Linked DNA regions of Homo sapiens: regions 1 and 3 are each linked to region 2. Evidence: promoter capture Hi-C in human tissues and cell types (Jung and others, 2019). All regions are on one chromosome and are shown on one strand. The core of a region is centred on a gene start or on the middle of the fragment in contact, and the rest is flanking DNA. Distances in the headings are between cores, read along the strand shown. Region 1 has its middle 46 kb from the start of PLSCR5. Region 2 holds the start of PLSCR5 (phospholipid scramblase family member 5). Region 3 has its middle 64 kb from the start of PLSCR5.

Evidence for each region. The method cuts DNA at HindIII sites, captures the fragments that hold promoters and counts their contacts. A contact is called where the count stands out against the background at its distance.
Region 1: a contact is called between a fragment that was not itself captured here and the fragment with the promoter of PLSCR5 in region 2, in 1 of the 25 tissues and cell types used here (hippocampus).
Region 3: a contact is called between a fragment that was not itself captured here and the fragment with the promoter of PLSCR5 in region 2, in 2 of the 25 tissues and cell types used here (aorta and hippocampus).

The regions. Positions count from the first base shown.
Region 1 is chr3:146,648,916-146,653,022 of GRCh38, forward strand. No RefSeq gene overlaps it. Among named protein-coding and RNA genes, the nearest start is that of PLSCR5, 46 kb to the left of the region's middle. The HindIII fragment of the contact is 3,439 bases long and covers 1,041-4,107 here.
Region 2 is chr3:146,601,932-146,606,665 of GRCh38, forward strand. It overlaps PLSCR5 (phospholipid scramblase family member 5), which reads right to left and starts at 3,415. Exons shown (of 8, transcript NM_001085420.2): 1 at 3,269-3,415. The coding sequence starts at 3,281. The HindIII fragment of the contact is 14,045 bases long and covers 1-4,734 here.
Region 3 is chr3:146,666,797-146,671,542 of GRCh38, forward strand. No RefSeq gene overlaps it. Among named protein-coding and RNA genes, the nearest start is that of PLSCR5, 64 kb to the left of the region's middle. The HindIII fragment of the contact is 6,463 bases long and covers 1-4,746 here.

The DNA of each region.
Region 1 (4,107 bases), core at 1,510-4,009, 46 kb after region 2:
GTATGTAAGCTAAACACAAAAAAGTCAAAATAAAATAAATATGCTATTTCATAATGGTAGTAGCTATTCTATAACTATGAAAAACTAGTGTTTTATATTGAATGTCTTTAAGTAACTACTCAGAAACATATATTCTGGGCTCGGCACGGTGGCTCACACCTGTAATCTCAACACTTTGGGAGGCCAAGGCAGGTGGATCACGTGAGATCAGGTGTTCGAGACCAGCCTGGCCAATGTGGTGAAACCTCATCTCTACTGAAAATACAGAAAAAAATAGCTGTGTGTGGTGGCAAATGCATGTAATAACAGCTACTTGGGAGGTTGAAGCAGGGGAATCAGTTTACTCCCTGGGAGGTGGAGGTTACAATGAGCCGAGATTGCGCCACTGCTCTCCAACCTGGGTGACAAAGTGAGACTTCATCTCAAAAAAAAAAGAAAAGAAAAAGAAAGAAAGAAAAGAAACATATATTCTGGCCATTATATTTTCCCACGTTAAATAGGCTATGAATAAGACCAACATTTCCAGTATTATATTAAGACATTTATTTGTAGAGAGGGGCAAAATGGACAGAAAAACTAAAAGACATAACCTGGGTCTAGAATTTGTTGTTATTAACTATTAAAGAATTCCCATAGTTGGTTTAGAGTACCCTTTATTTTTTAACATTCTTTTCTCTTTCTCTTCCTTTCTGTACTTTGTGATTTGAGTCAAAAGGTGAAAACAAGTACATTATGGTGTGTATTTTAATCATTGCACTATGCATTGCATGCTTTTTTGTAAGAGGCCAGGGGCTGAGCAGCCCATTTATGTCCAAGTCATGGGAGTGTGGGAATTAGGATTCCTGTGTGTCTCTGTGTCTATGTGTTTGTGAAGAAATATAATTAGAATAGAAATAGAATAATATTGCCGGACATCTTCTGTTTCTATATCTGTAAAATTAAAATAATAACTTAAAAGTTTTATTAAGAAAGAGAGAATAAGTATAAAAGAAATCTGGCACTTGGAATTTTAGCTATTATTATTAAAGACTTTTTAAATAGTATTTGAATCAAAATGTACACATATCTCTCATTCCCAGTCTACCGACCTACTTGCTCTTTCGAAAATGACCATTGATTTTTTGAACTCTGGAAGCTATAGCTGTACCTGGTCAAGAAAATCTCTTGGATTGGCAGGCTATTGAGTTAGCTGCCAGAAAACAGCCGTAAGAGGGTCAATTCTGATTAGAACTGACATCTAAGACTTTTTAAAATGAGTTCTTTCCCAGCTTGCTCATGTACTCCACTTTATTGTTTATAGAATTGCAAACCCTGTTACTTAAAATAGCAAAGACACTACATTTACTTTCTGCTGACAATTAATGCAATTAAGAATAATTAAAAGTTCAGGCACTACTAATTTCCTCAGAAAGTGTCTTGGAAACTAATACAGCTAAGAGGATTTAAAATGATGCTAATTCCACATGGTCTGGGGACTGGTGCCCCATCCTTAAATTGTTTCTCTTCCAGAATAAGTACAGAAGTTGAGAGTGCCGTGAAATGAAAGTTCATGGTGCAAATATTTTACAAAATTATTGCCCTGGTGGGGACTGGGAGTGAGAATTCTTGGTTCTTGACTACAGTAATTCCCAAAGCACTGATTTAAGGGAAATCTCTGTGCATAAGCAGGTAACAATTGATGTGGTCTGACCTCTTAAGACATGTTGCCACCAGATCTGTCCCCAAGCACCTGTTATGAAATCTGATTTTATAATTAGAATTTTATTTCTTAGGGTTGTAGGCTTGAAAATAGTGTTTCAGATCCTTTTATGATAGTGCAAATATTTCTGTAAAGAGAGGTAGGAGCTATCATTTACTGAACGACTATTATCTGAGTTGCTTGTGCATTTATTACTATTATTTTGCATAATGCTGGCCTAATGCCCTAAAAGAGTTTAGTTACCATGGAGGCCAATTTGGAAGTGTGTTGAGCAATGTTAGCAAAGAATAGAAAGATCCTGAATGTGTGTGTGTGTTTGATGGGGGTGGGGTATTAGAGAATTCCAAATCAAAATTAAAGTAGCTTCCCGATTTGCCCTGTATGCTATTTGCCACTTTGAGTTCACATGGTATATCACATCTTTGGGTATATTCTTGCTAATCCACAAGCCCAGTGGAAAAGGCAAGAAAGGGGATGAAGTGTGTATCTAAATCCAGTGCATATGCAGGACAGTTGAACCTTCTTCCCCACTGATCTTTACCAGTCATTCATTCTGTGAAGCTTTGTATCCTCCTTTATTCTGTGACATTCTTATTTCCTCCATGTTTTAGGGTGTGAACTCTATGTGGAAATGTACTGAGCTATCAGAATAGCAAAAGGAGTCATGTATTCTGAAGTGGCTATTTTAGTTCAAATGTTACATATTTCCTATTTTCTCTTGAGAATTGTTTTGCTGTTTCAGGCAGAATTTCAAAATGAATAGACAAAACAAACAAAGCTTCAAGATTCTCTAAGCAAGGATTTCTCCTAATAGGATTTTAAAATATTTTACAGTTTTTTCTCATCTATTTTATACACTTAGACTTTCTAGCTAGGTCAAATTATTCTTTTACATTTTATTGCCATTGACTTACAATTATAATATTCACTATTATGTTGGCTTTGCCAGGAATATTTTAGTAATTTAATATTGAACGTTAATAGAATCTCTGGTACAAATATCAAGGCGTCTGACCTTAAGGATGAGAATTAAAGTTACCTGGTTGGAAGTATTGACATCTATGCTCTGTGAGGGTCTTATGTACACTGTATTACTGAGGTGTTCAGTAGCTAGCTTAGACTGAGTGGCATATTCTCCCTACAATAACTGAATGTTCTGCTCCTTCTCCTTTAATTGACAAATAATTACACTTAATTCACACATTTATTAGTACACTGAAGGTTTGCTTTGGAAGAAATATATGTTATAACGATACTAAATCACTGAATTGAATAAGGAGTAACAGCTTTTTAAAAACAGCTTTCCCACTTTGGGAGGCTGAGGTGGGCAGCTTGCCTGAGCTCAGGAGTTCGAGACCAGCCTGGGAAACACGGTGAAACCTTGTCTCTACTAAAATACAAAAAATTAGCTGGGCTTGGCGGCATGAGCCTATAGTTCCAGCTGCTGGGGATGCTGAGGCAGGAGAATTGCTTGAACCCTGGAGGTGGAAGTTGCAGTGAGCCAAGATCGGGCCACTGCACTCCACTCTAGCCCAGGCGACAGAGCGAGACTCTGTCTTAAAAAGCAAAAACAAAAAAACATGCAAACAAAAAAACAGCTTTCTTACAAAAGTAATTTGGATTCGGTACTTACATTTGTGCTCGTGCATTTTGCGCTCATTCCAGTGTAGAAATAGAGATAAGTGCTCTTTGTGATATAGCCTTTCGGTCATAGACATAAGGACTGAAGCCATAAACAACTTATAAACTAGAGAAATGAAAACTATATGCACTAAGTTGAAATTGAGTTTTCTCTAATTAAAATGTTAATAAGATTTAATGGCTTAGAGTCCCCTAAGACCTAAAGGAGCCCATAATTAAAATAAAGTGATTTTAAAGAAATTATGATAAATATTAAAATATCCAAAATTGTTTTGCTGTAAATTCTTAAACTTAGGCCGTATTTCCTTTACTGCTCTTTGCTTTTCTTTTCTCTAAGTATTTTTTTCTTTTTTAGATATATGTGTATAAGATTGTTGACTCTTTACTATGCCGATACTAGGTTAAACTAAAATAATACACATTCTCATTTAATTCTCACAATAGTCCTCTGTGGTAACAGCTTTTCTTCTCATGTTACTGGATAAAGAATTTCAAGCATGATATTCTGATTTACCTACACAAATAAGGAAAAAAAATTCCAACTTTCATATTTAAATTTATTATTTACTTATTACCTATCTGACACTACATTCAGCATCAGATAAGTGAATGTCTTGTGTGTGGTTAGTTGTAGTGAGCACAGAGCCCACCCATATTCCCAGCTTCCCTGTGGTTAGGTGTGGCCAGATGACTGTCCTGGATGAGGGAATGTGAGAGGATTAATGATGTGTCTGTTCTGAGTGGTGGCTTTTAACAATGGATGTGCC
Region 2 (4,734 bases), core at 2,165-4,664:
ATTTATTTAACCTTAAGGTTGTACGAATAAACTGAGTTCATTATTATTAGTGTAGGGCCATTAAGTTTGTACTGGTCTGTGATATTTAGAATGTAGACATGCTTTATGGTTAGGACCAAATGGAATAACTTGTCAAATGGCCCTACTAAAATACAGCTTCCTACTGATAATACTATAGCAGTTTGGTTTCCGCAAGTACCCCCACCCTGAACTTCTCACACATCTGGGGCAGATACAAAGGATATAGGCTTTAGACCTTCCCCTGCTCTTGAGAATGGCTCCTCAATAGGATCCTAAGAAGTAAAGCCAGAGAAAGACTATGTAACACTATGTCAGATTTGGGAGAAGAGCTAATGGCCATTAATATAACAATAATGATGCAAAAATATTAAAAGGCAATAAACATTATTTCTTTAGCGTTAGTGCAAAATGTACCATTGTCACTTTCAGAAAAACATAGAAGCAAAATTATGATATAGGGAAAACTAGTTCACAATGATAAAATCCAGAATAGTGGTCCATCTTGGGAAAGGGAGGATGCATGGCTATTGGCTAGAAAGAGAACATTATAGAATCTAGAAATGTCTATATCTTGATCTTGGTGGTGGTCATGAATGGGTCCTTATTTTAAAAATCATGGAGCCTAGGTTTTGTGCTCTATGTACTTCACTGCACATATTATCTCTCAATTAAAAACCATGTGTAGGGATTAATTTCTAACAATAGCTAGTATAAGATTTTTAGATTCTCTCTCATTGTAAACTTAATTGTTAAAGGGATTCACAAATTACCCCAATTTTATCTTGTAAATTATGTTTGCTGTAACAAAATGCAGTAGGTTATGGAGGGTTTGGCAAGTAGCTGTACATTCCCGCCCAGTCCTGGAGGGCCTTAGACTTCACAGCAAGTCCAGAAGCATTAATGCACTTGGAGCTCAGAGGATATTGTGTCCAAAGTCTTTATTTAGGAGTAGAGTGTGAGTGAGTCTCTGCCTGAGACTGTTGAGAGACATCACTATTCTGAGATCACTAGCTGCTTCTTCTGGGATTTTAGTTCACATTGAAGCAACCTTTGGAGACAGCTCTTGCTCAGTTCAGATCACCGTGTTTGAGAGCAACTTGCTCTTAAATTGTGTTAATTTCTACTAAGCCAGGATGCTCCAGCTCACACAAATGTCTCTTCAGTTCTAATGGCACCTGGTATTTAGACTGTCTTTTGGTTTAGTAGTGCTGATTGATCTGCCTATGAAATATGTGAAATGTACAATTAGTCTGCATTCCCTGGGAAAATGCTAATTGCCAATATAGTTACTGGACAAGAAAACATGATGTTATAAATAATGTGTTTATATACAGCTGAAGAAAACTATCCACAAAAATGTTTTACTTAGATAATGGTGATAATTTGACTTGCCCTCTTAAACAAGATATCTAATTCACAAGAAAGCTTCATTATCACTTATATTCTCCTAGGTAGTATGAAGTCTCTAATAGGTGTTTTATCCTTCCATGCATTAAATATTTTGAGCCGGTTGCAGAAGGAGGGTCAGTTTTCCACCTGAAGTTTTGCTTCTAAGTTTAGACTTGGGTCTTTATCATTATGGAACATCACTGCTTCCTGTTAGATTAATCATATTTTGACATAATATTACTTTCCAGTCACAAGTTTCTTCAAAGACTCAGACAACCAGATGAAGAAGGAACTCCTTTGAATTTCGTACTGGCTTTGAATTTCTATCTACTCTTTTAAAAATGTATAACTAGCTTATAAATATTTTATACACTCTGCAACTTTTTACCTTACAGTCTACAGTATTGCTGTAACTCTTATTTTATAAAGTGATGAAGTATTTTGGACTAAATAGTAGTGTCAGTCTTAAATGAAAGGAAATATTTGTCAAGGTTTTTTGTTTATTTGTCTTCAGATAGAAAAAAATGACACATATGTTAAATTCATGATTTTGCTATTTCACATCTATGTTTTACAATTTGTGTGAGCTTTCTCAGTGATTCTGAGGGACTGAGGGACTGGTCTACATTAAAGATTGATAAAAAATGGAAAGATTATCTCATTTGTTTCATATTAAATAGTGACCAAAAGTGTGTTTTGATAAAGGAAGCAAGTAAGCATACACATTTGTTTGAATGGATCACTAATTTAGGATATTACAAATTGATGAGCCCTATTATCCTATTTGTAATTAATTTAAAAGGTTTTCACCAATTATACTAATTATAATTCTTCATGCTAAAACTTTTCATTATAGCCTAGGCTTTAGTGGTTCATTCTGACAATGAAATGAAAGCACATTATAATTTTATTTCTTACACAGTTTCACAAGTGTTTTTAGTGAGATTGCAACTTACTTTAAAAACAACTACATCTCTTGTCTTTTTAGACCTTCTTTAAAGTAAGATAACGTAATGATATTTTTGCAGTTTTAGGAATTTGAGAAAAAACTCATCAGTCCTACTCCCCAAAAGTCTGCTAAGTGATCTGTGCGCTTAAAGCAGATATTTTCTGTTTGTTTTCTATCTTTAATTTACCATAAGGAAATTTCAAGATATTTTTGCTTTATAATTCAGAAATACTTATTTCTAGCCCATCACATTTAAGAATCAATAATAACGCATGTCAGATTCTTTATAATAAATGGCTATATCACATAATTTGAATAACAAATGGGAAAATAAAACTTAGAGAGTGTAACTGGATTGTCTGTAACTCAAAGGCTGAATGCTTGATGGGATGGATATCCCATTCCCCTTTATGTCCTTAATTCACATTGCCTGCTTGTATGAAGACATCTCATGTATCCCATAAGTATATATACCTACTATGTACCCACATAAATTTTTAATATTTTAATTAAAAAAATTATTAAATTGCACTTTAACACTTTCTAACTTATGTGTGAAAAGTTTTCTTCAAATCCTTTTAAACTTAAAATATCACCCTGTCCTTGTGTTTAACATTGAAGATTCCCATTCTAAACTTTGCTATGCAGCTTTTCTTATTAATTCACTATGTTTGTATTCATGATAACTAAAACATCGTTTACATCTGAACTTTTACAGTCTGTCAGATAAAGTGTTTTTACATGTAACTCAACATGCTCCTGGGAGTTAAGATTTTAAAATCACAATGTTCAAAAGTGACAAATGACAGCTTTTAAAGTACCAATCTAACTGGTTGTAACACATCCACAATTGTATATTTTTAGTCTTAATATAAGAAAAAGTTATTAGTTGGTTATATTTACTCTTACCTTTAGAGGCCATGAAGATGTCTGAGTCACTTCTTCAAAGGTTGCCAGGTTGGAAAACAAAGGCTTTTCTTGTTGCAGCAAGGAGAGAAAACGCAGCATGCACAAAACTTCAGAACGTGTTTGTCTGCCTCTTGTCAGCTTACATATAACAGAGGAAGGGAGTCCCTTGCTGTTTCTAGACTTCTGGACTTTATCAGTTTGGACAACAGAGTGAGATGAAACTGTCACAAAAGTAAACGCTGTTCAGAAACCATCATATAACTTTGGTGGCTGAAGGAACAATTTAAAAATAATAAAAACCAGAAAGGAAAGCACACAGCACTCATTTTAAGTGTCTTTTTTTTTTTTACCAAGTTGTTTTTGTATTTCTTAGAATATACACATTTGCATTCAGTCTTATATCAGAAATATCCTGTATTTCTCAATTTCTAGAAGTCTCCTTTCCAGATTCTGTGATAAAACATCCTATTGTATAAATTTTTGATAGTTCTAAATACAATTCTTTACATGTTGAAAATGTTTGAACATTATTATTGTTATTTTTCTATTGGATTTATCTCCATCTCTTCAACTCAAAATAAATAAGAAGAGGATATATTCCCTACTATTATATAAATAAATCTTTATTTTCATTTTTAATTGAATTTGATTAATCAGAGGCATTGGAATATACAAACCTTCAATAGCCTTGCAAAGCTAATCAAAATTTACAGATGATATTTAACTGCATTGAATTCTAAGGAAAGAAAACAAGTGCTGTAACCTTGACTGGACAGCTCCTATTTCTAAATGCAGCTACCCAGGTGACCATGGAGATTTTGCTCACCAAGTCAATTGCCCTACATGGTATGATTCACAAAGGTTGAACATGCAGGATATATTGCATTATCAGCAACACTGTCTTTTTCTGAAAATAGTTAAGAGGCTTCAGGAGGTATACCTTGTGATGAAAAATTATAAAGTCAACCTCACAGTTTGCAGACTGCCAAAAGTTTGAGTTTTCCTTATTTGACAAAGAGGAGTGGTTTTGTTGTTGTAGTTTTCTTAGTGTTTGGAGTTGAAAAAAGCTACCATTATTTAAGTTGTCGTTTTGCAGAAAAGATGTGTGAATATGATTAATATTTTTAAATTAAACTGTATGTTTCCTAAGTTTTTTCTAATGTTTGTCGTGAGCATTTAGAAAAACTTTAATACAAAAAATTAAGTTATTAACACTATCAAAGAAGATTAAAAAAATTTTTTTTATTATACTCTAAGTTCTACGGTACATGTGCACAACGTGCAGGTTTGTTACATATGTATACATCTGCCATGTTGGTGTGCTGCACCCATTAACTCATCATTTACATTAGGTACATCTCCTAATGCTATCCCTCCCCTCTCCCCCCACCCCACAACAGGCCCCGGTGTGTGATGTTCCCCTTCCTGTGTCCATGTGTTCTCACTGTTCAATTCCCACCTGTGAG
Region 3 (4,746 bases), core at 437-2,936, 63 kb after region 2:
AGCTACCACTTAATTTATTTGCTTCCATTCACAACCAGTTTCTTTAAAGAGCTTTCTATATTTATGTCTCCAGTTATTGTTTATATTTTCTTGATTTTAAAAAGGAAAAGTGGACATATCATAAGTGTATAGCTTGAGGATTTTTTACAAATTGAACACACGCATGAAAATAGTACTCAGAACATAACATTACCAGCATCCCAAAGATCTCTCTTTTATCTGGTTCCAAGAACGACTGCCTCACATTGTCAATTTTTCTGGGTCCTAACACCATAGATTGCTGGTGTGTGTTTGTTTTATTTGTTGTTGTTTTGTTTTTGTTTTTTTTTTACATAAAAGGAGTCATATAGTATGTACTCCATTTGTATGCATTCCTTGAATCAACATTATCTTACTGAGTTACACATTTTATTTTATAAAATAGTGTATCCATTTCCTTTTAAACACACTCTTTGTCAGGCTTTTTTTCCCATCCCTCCACGAGTACTACTATTATCAAGTCAAAATAATCCCACATTGCTCAACTCACTGACCCAATATGATCCTACTGGACCTACTTGATCTCGTTTATTTACTTTTTTAATACACAATCTTTAATTTGCCATCAGAGCACTTCCATCTTGTAGTTTTCTATTTTTCTCATTTAGTCTTTTCTGTCTCTTTTGCTAGTTCCTTTTCTTCTGTCCAACTGCCTCTTCAAGTTAAGGTGTTCCAGTTTTTTGCCATTTTTTTTTTTCTAATAAAAAAATTTTGAGAAACTTTTTAGTGGGTTTTATGGTTCTAAGTAACATTGCAATGATTATCACTCCAATATTTATATCTCAGGCCCAGATTTCTTTTTTGAAATCCAGATTTGTATATGCAATTATGTATTCAACAGCTTTTCTTGAATTTATGTCTTCTCAACAGACATAAATTCAACAGCTGCAAAATGAAGTTCCTAATTGTACTCCTCAAAACCTGCTTCACTTAAAGCATATTCCATCTCAGTTGACATCAACTTCATTCTTCTAAGTGCTCAAAGTCAAATACTTGAAATTATCCTTGAATTCTCGTTTTCCCTCACACTGCATCCAATTTATCAGCAAATTCACTTTCTCTTGAAAGCATATTCAGAATCAGACCTCTGATGTAGGAGCCAGCATCATTCAGTGCTTACATTACTGCCACAGCCTCCTTTCTCATCACCATCATTCCATCCTTCATCTATCCTCCCATCTATTTTCAAAAGAGCCATCATTGTAAAATGTGTATTTTTAAAGAATAATTTTACTTTAGATTCAGGGGACACATGTGCAGGTTTGTCACATGGCATGGGTGTATTGTGTGAGGCTGAGGTTTGGGGTGTGAATGAATACCCCAAGATAGTGAGCATATTACCCAATAGGTAGTTTTCAGGATTTGGCCACCTCCCTCTCTCCTTTTGGAGTTACCAGTGTCTATTGTTCCCCTCTTTACAATCATATGTATTCAATTCTTAGCTCTCACTTATAAGTGAGATCATGCAGTATTTGGTTTTCTGTTCCTGTGATGTTTTGCTTAGGAATATGGCCGTCACACACATGCATGTTTCTGCAAAAGGACGTAATTTTGTTCTCTTTTATGGCTGTGCAGTACTCCATGGTGTCTATGTACCACATTTTTTTAAATCTGCCATTGATGGTCACCTAGGTTGATTCTATATCTTTGATATCGTGAATAGTGCTGTAATGAACACACTAGTGCATGTGTCTTTTTGGTATTACAATTTTTTTTTTTTGGACATATACCCAGTAACGGGATTTCTGAATCAAATGGTAGTTTAACTCTCAGTTCTTTGATGAATATCCAGACTGCTTTCCACAGTTGCTGAAATAATTTACATTCCCATCAAAAGTGTGCAAGTGTTCATTTTTCGCCCCAGTCTCACCAGCATCTGTTATTTTTTTACTTCTTAATAATGGCCATTCTGACTGGTGCTAGAGAATATCTCATTGTGGTTTTGATTTGTATTTCTCTGATAACTAGTGATACTGGTCATTTTTTCATTTTTTTTGGTCCACTTGTGTGTCTTCTTTTGACTTTGTTAGGAAGTGTCTTTTGCCCACTTTTTAATGGGGTTATGTGTTTTTTGTTTGTTGAATTAAGTTTCTTATAGATTCTGAATATTATACCTTTGTTAGACACATAGTTTGTGAATATTTTCTCCTAGTCTGTTGGTTGCCTGTTTACTCTATTGATAGTTTCTTTTGCTGTGCGGAAGCTCTTTAGGCCCCACTTGTCAAATTTTGGTTTTGTTGTAGGCTTAGTCATAAACTCCTTCCTAAGGTCAATGTCCAGAGAGGGGTTCCGAGGTTTTCTTCTAGGATTCATATAACTTGATGTCTTACATTTAAATCCTTAATCCATTTTGAGTTAATTTCTGTGTATAGTGAAAGGTAGGGATCCAATTTCACTCTTCTGCATATGACTAGCCAGCTTTCTCAGCACCATTTATTGAATGTGGAATCCTTTCCCCATTGCTTATTTTTGTTGACTCTGTCAAAGATCAGGTGGCTGCAGGTGTGCTGCTTTATTTCTGGGTTCTCTATTCTGTTCCATTGCTCTGTGTGTCTGGTTTTTTTTTTTTTTTTTCAGCACTACCATGCTGTTTTGGTTATTGAAGCCTGATAGCATTGTTTGAAGTTGGGTAATGTGACACCTATGGCTTTGTTCTTTTTGTTTAGGACTGCGTTGGCATTTGTGCTTTCTTTTGTTTCTGTATGTATTTTAAAATAGCCTTTTCTAATTCTGTGAAAAAATGACATTGGTAGTTTGATAGGAATAGCAATGAATCTGTAAATTGTTTTGGACAGTATGGTCATTTTCATGATATGAATTCAACCAATCCATGAGCATCAGATATTTTTCCATTAATTTGTGACATCTGTGATTTCTTTCAGCATTGTTTTCTAATTCTCCTTGTAGAGATTCTTCACCTCCTTAGTATTCTTAGGTACCTTTTTTTTTTTTTTTTGGTATGTGTGGCTATTGTAAATCGGGTTTTGCACTTGAGTTGGCCCTCAGCCTGGACATTGTTGGTGTATAGAAATGTTACTGATTTGGGGACATTGATTTTGTATACCAAAACTTTACTAAAGTTGTTTCACAGTTTCAGGAGCCTTTTGCTAGCATCATTAAGGTTTTTTAGGTATAGAATTATATCATTAGCAAAGATAAATAATTTCACCTATTATTTTTCTACTTGGATGCACTTTATTTCTTTCTTTAGCCTGATTGCTCTAGAATAGTTAAGTCATCTTGTCAAATTGAGCACTTTATCATTATGTAATGTCTTTCTTTGTTCTTTTTTATTGTTGTTGGTTTACAGTTTGTTTTATCTGATATAAAATACTGATCTCTGCTCTTTTTTGCCTTCCATTTGTGTGGTAGATCTTTCTCAAATGTATTCTTTTGAGCCTGTGGATGTCATTATGTGTGAGATGGGTCTCTTGAAGACAGTAGATAGATGGATCTTGTTTACTCATTCAAACTTGCCACTCAGTTCTTTTGAAATGGACCCTTTGGACCATTTGGATTCACGGTTAATGTTGATATGTGAGATCTTTATTCTATCATGAAATTGTTAGCTGACTGCTTTGTAGTTTCTATTGTGTGGTTGTTTTATACTTTTGGTGAGCTATGTATTTAAGTGGGTTTTATAATAGCAGGTATCATTCTTTTGTTTCCATGTTGGATTTCCTTAAGGATCTCTGGTAAGGCTAGTCTAATGATAATGAATTCTCTTAGCACTTGCTTTTCTTGAGAAAAACTTTATATCTTCTTGGCTTACGCAACTTGATTTAGAAAGATATGAAATTCTTGGCTGGAATTTCTTTTCTTAAAAACGCTGAAAATAGGACCCCAATCTCTCTTGGCTTGTAAGGTTTCTGCTAAGAAGTCCACTGTTAGTCTGATGGGATTCCCTTTTAGTATCTTTCAGGTCTTCTCTGCATTTCTTATATCTGAATATCTACCTCACCAGAAAGATAAGACAAATATTATTAAATTGTTTCCTCAAATATGTTTCCAGGTTGACTATTTTTTCTCCTTCTCTCTCAGTAATGTCAGTAATTTGTAGGTTAGGTCACATGACCTATAATCCCATATTTTTTGAAGCCTTTGTTCATTTTAAAGATTCTTTTTTCTTTTTTTTTTTCTGATTGAGTTAGTAAAAAGACCACTCTTCAAACTCTGAAATTCTTTCTTCTCCTCTGTGTAGTCTTTCAAGTGTATTTTGAATTTCCTTAAGTTAATTTTTCAATTCCAGAAGCAGTGATTGATTTCAAGATGTTTATTTCTTCCTTCATTTACTGGATTCCTTTAGATGTTTCTTTGTGTTGATTTGCACCTTGTATTGAATCTTGTTGAACTTCCTTGAAATTCATGTTTTGATTTCTTTATCTGTCATTCCTGAGTTTCCATTTTAGTTAGAAACCCTTGCTGGAGAGCTAATGTGATCCTTTGGTGTCATTCCTTTCAGATTTTTCATGGTGTCAGAATCCTTGCACTGCTTCTTTCTCATCTGGAGATGCTGACACATCTAATTTTTGTAATTTTTTTCCATGTAGATAGGATTGTTTTATCTTTCTTTTTTCCCCCTATATTATTATTATTATTTCCTTCCCTTTCCCCCACCCCTTAGAGGGTGTGACAGTAGGGAATGTTGACTAGGGTCTTTTTGGCTTTGCTTCTATAACCCTATGTTCTTCTGTCGGCAAGTTTTAT